Regions from separate parts of the Homo sapiens genome. Here region 1 is linked to region 2. The links are contacts of gene promoters, found by promoter capture Hi-C in human tissues and cell types (Jung and others, 2019). All regions are on one chromosome and are shown on one strand. Each heading gives the region's core, a stretch centred on a gene start or on the middle of the fragment in contact. The rest is flanking DNA. Distances are from core to core; before and after follow the strand shown.

What was found. Contacts are between HindIII fragments. The study calls those that stand out against the background at their distance.
Region 1: a fragment that was not itself captured here is called in contact with the fragment with the promoter of OR13C8 in region 2 in 3 of the 25 tissues and cell types used here (H1 embryonic stem cells, bladder and hippocampus).

The regions. Positions count from the first base shown.
Region 1 is chr9:104,494,354-104,497,690 of GRCh38, forward strand. No RefSeq gene overlaps it. Among named protein-coding and RNA genes, the nearest start is that of OR13F1, 8.2 kb to the right of the region's middle. The HindIII fragment of the contact is 3,801 bases long and covers 1-3,294 here.
Region 2 is chr9:104,567,216-104,570,476 of GRCh38, forward strand. It overlaps OR13C8 (olfactory receptor family 13 subfamily C member 8), which reads left to right and starts at 1,953. Exons shown (of 1, transcript NM_001004483.1): 1 at 1,953-2,915. The coding sequence starts at 1,953. The coding sequence ends at 2,915. All of the region lies in intron 3 of LOC107987105 (a long non-coding RNA gene), which reads right to left. The HindIII fragment of the contact is 8,099 bases long and covers 1-3,261 here.

The sequences.
Region 1 (3,337 bases), core at 144-2,643, 73 kb before region 2:
TTTTGAGGCAGAGTTTTGCTCTTGTTGCCCAGGCTGCAGTGCAATGGCGCGATCTTGGCTCCCCGCAACCTCAGCCTCCTGGGTTCAAGCAATTCTCCAGCCTCAGCCTCCCGAGTAGCTGGGATTACAGGCATGTGCCACCACGCCCTGCTAATTTTGTATTTTTTAGTAGAGACGGGGGTTTCACCATGTTGGCCGGGCTGGTCTCGAACTCCTGACCTCGTGATCCACCTGCCTCAGCCTCCCAAAGTGCTGGGATTACAGGCGTGAGCCACCGGGCTCAGTCGCAGCTTATCTATATTTACCATAAACAATGGCCAGGCAAGGCAGCCATTGACTGACACATTAATGTAAGACATACATCAAGTGTCCTTCAGTTCAAGGACAGGGATGAAACCCCATACTTAGTCTATTCCCCACACAGCCTCCAGTTCAGTACTAAGCACAGAGCTTTGCCTTAGTATTTAATCTTCAATGTAAGACACTAGCAACTCTCTTCGACAGTTTATTATGTTTTAAAATAATTTGAATAAAAATATAAAGAAGCTTGTTTATATTTGTAAATATTAATAACAACAAAAAACAAAGCAGTGCATTTTTTTTCTCCACTGAGAAAGCTTTTCATAGGGGGAGGGTGGGCTCCATCAAAGACAAGCAAGTCTTTTTCACCATCTAGTGGCAATAGGGGATTATAACATCAGAGATCTTAAATTTAAACTTCCCTTCCCGCATCAAGCTTTATTGAAGTATACTTGACACATAAGAATTGTATCTTAATCCTTTCAAGGACAATTAAAACTATACTTAGAAAATTGTAGTCGTGTAGGGTTCACAAATAGAGCTGCATCCCTGTGTGTACACAGGGAAGGCCAGTGTAACCTTTCCTTGCCTGTTACCTTGGGCCTGTGTGCAGGAATGTTACCTATGTGATGAACTATTTATTCATCTAACAAATCTCCACTTAGTCGTTACTGTATTCCAGCCTCCATAATGGTAATAAAAAAGCTGACTATCAGGAGTTTGAGACCAGCCTGGCCAACATGGTGAAACCACATCTCTACTAAAAACACAAAAATTAGCCAGGTATGGTGGTGCATGCCTGTAATCCCAGCTACTTGGGAAGCTGAGGCAGGAGAATCGCTTAAATGAGAAAGGCAGAGGTTGCAGTGAGTTGAGATCGCACCACTATACTTTAGCCTGGGCAACAGAGTGAAACTCTGTCAAAAAAAAAAAAAAAAAAAGAAAGCTAAGAAACCTAATTCACAAAATAGGCAATCATACAATATAAGGGAGTCAGACCTAAAGTGTCTGTCAGACCTAAAGTGACAGCTCACAAATGTCAAATTTAAATACATTTATTCCACGCTTGCTATGCTTCCAAAAATATGCAAAATATCACCCACCAATGGTTACTTTTTTCACCAATATAGGCCTTCGTCTGACGATTTGAATCTTTTGTTGGTTGGATCTTGTGTCCCATGACTTCCAGACGCCTTGGCTTTGCTCCGTGTTCCTGCTTCACACTGCAAACCGCCTTTTGATGAAGTTTGTGGCCCCACCTCTTTGACTTTGTTCCTTGAACATTTTTCTTAGACATGATTGTATTTGCTCTAGTTTCTGTGATAACCTTAGAGAACCCTTACTAACCAAAAATTATACTGGAAAGCCAAAAGGGGATGACATCAAAAGCCCGAGGCCTTGAGGTCCTTGTTCCCTGGAGATGAGACAATGCCTTCTTTGCTGTCTGTGCAGAAAAGGCTGTGCAAACCACAATTTTGTACATTCAGATTTCAACAATGACCACTACACTTGCCTAAAGTATCTGCTTTGCTGGTGTCCTGATTTTAGAAAGGTACCATAAAGCTTACCAAGGGACCATGCTCTCTGGCACCAAGGAAGCAAACTCATTACCAAGAGAAAAGATCAGTATAGATTTTGGTGGTCGGATTACTTCACAGAACCTCAAACCTTTCCCCCCATCCAAGGTACTAGCCTTAATAATAGGCCCTGAGTATGTTCCTGAAGAACTGTAAGCTACCCAGGTGCCGACCAATGCCTCTGTTGTAGACTGAATAGTGTCCCCCAAATTTCATTTGTTGCAGTCCTAACCTCCTGCCCCTCAGAATAAAACCGTATTTAGAGATAAGGCCTTTAAAGAGGCAATTAAGGCCAGACATGGTAGCTCACACTTTGAATCTCAACATTTTGGAAGGCTAAGGCAGGAGGACCACTTGAAGCCGGGAGTTCAAGACCAGCCTGGGCAACAAAGCAAGACACCATCTCTACAAATTTTTTTTTTTTTTTTGACGGAGTCTCGCTCTGTCGCCCAGGCTGGAGTGCAGTGACGCGATCTCAGCTCACTGCAAGCTCCGCCTCCCGGGTTCATGCCATTGCCATTCTCCTGCCTCAGCCTCCCGAGTAGCTGGGACTACAGGCGCCCGCCACCATGCCCGGCTAATTTTTTGTATTTTGTTTAGTAGAGACGGGGTTTCACCGTGTTAGCCAGGATTTTCTCGATCTCCTGACCTCGTGATCCGCCCACCTCGGCCTCCCAAAGTGCTCGGATTACAGGCGTGAGCCACCGCGCCCAGCCCAAAAAATTTTTTAAAGTGATTGAGTTAAAATAAAATCTTCAGAGTGGGACCTAATTCAATATGAGTGGTATTCCCATAAAAAGAAACGTGGACACAGAGAAAAATCAAATGCATGCACACGCAGAGATGACCCTGTGAACACGCCAAGAGGAGGCAGTTGACTCCAGTGATGAACAAGGAGAGAGGCCTCAGAAGAAACTAAACATGCTAACACCTCAATCTTGAACTTCTAGTCTCCAGAAGTGTGAGAAAACAAATTTGTGTTGTTGAACTCACTCTGGTTGTGGTATGTTGTTATGGCAGCCTTAGCAAACTAATATACCCTCCTATGCAATAACCTAATCTTGGTTCAACACTCTTTCCCCTCTAGAAAATTTGCAGCTCTCCATGCAGTCTTCAACTTGAGTAACAGCCCTTCTTCTTGGAAGATGAAGTTGTCTTTTTATTGATCCTGACTCATCTTTGGAAAGGTAAAATGACTTTTCAGCCAGATTTATATTCATTCGGGGATGAACAATTATCTTCTTTGGGGGAGATCAGTAAAATAGCAAAGAAACTCCCTCAGCCCCACATATTCATCAGGCCACTTCCCTCGTGATTTGCATATCATCTCTGCATATAGATTCTTCTGAGATCGCTGAAATGGGTATCCAGCCCCTGGTGTCTTTCATCAATACATCTTTGGTGGTATTCCCAGGAACTTCTACAATGTGTCAAAATAAAACATTTCAATGTCTTATTTT
Region 2 (3,261 bases), core at 703-3,202:
GGATAATTCTTATCTCCTACAATAATAGTCCCATTACCTTGGGTTATTATGAATTAAAAAAATTAGAAATGTATCTGGCATAATCAATACATAAATTACTATCTTATTATTCTTGTTGTTGATTAAAGGATTTTATGTATTGCATTGACGATTTTAAAACTATGCTCCCTGGAATCCTCTTAAACTTAACTGAGGGAGTAAGAGTGAATAAACAAGTAAAGAATGGTGTTTTATTCTCCCCTGTACACCAGTGTAACTTCAACTGGAGAAATTTTCCTTTTTATTTGTTTTATATATTACACTTCTGTATAAATTTTATTTTTCAATAATGAATGGTTAGACATCATTGGTTCAGTTCAATGTATATATTTTGAATAAAAGCACTATTATCACAATTGATTCTTTAGTTGTTGCATGCTTGAAAATAAATTAGGTAGAGGCTACAATAAACACCATTACATATTTTAATCAAAGCCAGTGATAAAATTGGCTTTGTAAATTTTAATTTATTCAATTTTTTAAAAATCATTTCTTTGAATGAATACTTCCTCATTGTACTGAAAAAACATACTGGAGGAGTATGAAGGTATGTTCCTTTTCTCAACGAGGTTACTCTCCTCAAAGAGGTCATATGCAGATACATAACCACTACTATACCCCAGTAGACCAGACTGAGTTTTCAAAAGATGCTCAACCACACAGGGCCACATTATGATTTTGATGGGCCCTAGGCACTTTTTTTTTTTTTTTTTTTTTGGCCTTTGTGGGGCCTTATTTCCATAAAGATTTAAAAGTCATATTTTACTTCTGCATTGTTACAAAAACAAATATAGTATATATTAAAACTTTAAAGTTAACGTTTTTCTTCATATTTTAAAAGAAATCAAAACATTTTCCTAGGTTTTTCACAATATGGTCGGAGTACTGTGCCTAATGGATAAGTTGGCCGTGCAGCCATAAGTCAAGATTCCAAATCCATATAAGATCCTGCCAGGTAATATAAACAATTGAGACCAACAATTGAGAATAACATGAGACTAACATGTTAATTGATAACTTATATTCACCTCCAGTGACAAGAGAGTGAGGATTGTAGTCTGGTAGAATGGAGGGACATGCGTTGGATCCAATGGGTCAGTTATTAATATAACTAAGCTCCATGACAGAAACAGGTCTAAAGTTTTCAAATATTCTAATTTATTCAAAGACAAGCTGAAGGCACAGATTTTTATACCATATCTGTTGATTAGAATGTTGATCTCTAGGCCGGGCACGGTGGCTCACGCCTGTAATCCCAGCACCTTGGGAGGCCGAGGAGGGCAAATCACGAGGTCAGGAGATCGAGACCATCCTGGCTAACACAGTGAAACCCCGTCTTTACTAAATATACAAAAACAAAATTAGCTGGGAGTGGTGGCGGGCGCCTGTAATCCCAGCTACTCGGGAGGCTGAGGCAGGAGAATGGCGTGAACCCGGGAGGCGGAGCCTGCAGTGAGCCGAGATGGCGCCACTGCACTCCAGACTGGGCGGCAGAGCGAGACTCCGTGTCGAAAAAAAAAAAAAAGAATGTTGATCTCTATTTCAAATTTAAACACAGTGCAGACAATCACTGCCAAACAAAGCACACCTGTCTGCTGAATCCAGGCTGTAGAACACTGATTTGCAGCCAATGGGTTAAGAGGCAGAACTTGTGGAAACAGCAATAAAGTGGATTGGGATCCAAAGGTCCTATAATCATGTGTTCTCTCTTAACTCTGAGACAGGTTAGGATTCCTACTCTAGTGGCCTGGGTTTTACAGGAAGAAATTGTCCCCAAACTTATATTGTTGCATCCAAAAACAGAACTGCAATAATACAGAATATGATTCTTAAAAGTAGCTCTCACAGACACTGTATTAACATATTCCTGTTCTATCATTCACAGAGTTCTGTTGGAGATCAGTATATGTAATATGGAAAGGACCAACGATTCCACGTCGACAGAATTTTTCCTGGTAGGGCTTTCTGCCCACCCAAAGCTCCAGACAGTTTTCTTCGTTCTAATTTTGTGGATGTACCTGATGATCCTGCTTGGAAATGGAGTCCTTATCTCAGTTATCATCTTTGATTCTCACCTGCACACCCCCATGTATTTCTTCCTCTGTAATCTTTCCTTCCTCGACGTTTGCTACACAAGTTCCTCTGTCCCACTAATTCTTGCCAGCTTTCTGGCAGTAAAGAAAAAGGTTTCCTTCTCTGGGTGTATGGTGCAAATGTTTATTTCTTTTGCCATGGGGGCCACGGAGTGCATGATCTTAGGCACGATGGCACTGGACCGCTATGTGGCCATCTGCTACCCACTGAGATACCCTGTCATCATGAGCAAGGGTGCCTATGTGGCCATGGCAGCTGGGTCCTGGGTCACTGGGCTTGTGGACTCAGTAGTGCAGACAGCTTTTGCAATGCAGTTACCATTCTGTGCTAATAATGTCATTAAACATTTTGTCTGTGAAATTCTGGCTATCTTGAAACTGGCCTGTGCTGATATTTCAATCAATGTGATTAGTATGACAGGGTCGAATCTGATTGTTCTGGTTATTCCATTGTTAGTAATTTCCATCTCTTACATATTTATTGTTGCCACTATTCTGAGGATTCCTTCCACTGAAGGAAAACATAAGGCCTTCTCCACCTGCTCAGCCCACCTGACAGTGGTGATTATATTCTATGGAACCATCTTCTTCATGTACGCAAAGCCTGAGTCTAAAGCCTCTGTTGATTCAGGTAATGAAGACATCATTGAGGCCCTCATCTCCCTTTTCTATGGAGTGATGACTCCCATGCTTAATCCTCTCATCTATAGTCTGCGAAACAAGGATGTAAAGGCTGCTGTCAAAAACATACTGTGTAGGAAAAACTTTTCTGATGGAAAATGAATACTGATTTATACTACATGACTTAATATTCAATGCTGCTGCAGACATAAAATTCAGAAAGATAAAATTACCATGTGAAAACAAATTTTGCCATGTGGCATTCAAAACCATATGGTAGAAATATTTTTGGGCCAGGCACAGTGGCTCATGCCTATAATCCCAGCACTTTGGGAGGCCAAGGAAGGTGGGTCACCTGAGGTCAGGAGTTCGAGACCAGCCTGGCCAATATGGCAAAACCCTGTCTCTACTAAAAATACAAAAATTAGACAGGCGTGGTGACGTGGGTATGTAGTCCCAGCTACTTGGGAGGCTGAGGCAGGAGAATTGCTTGAACGGGAAAGGAGGA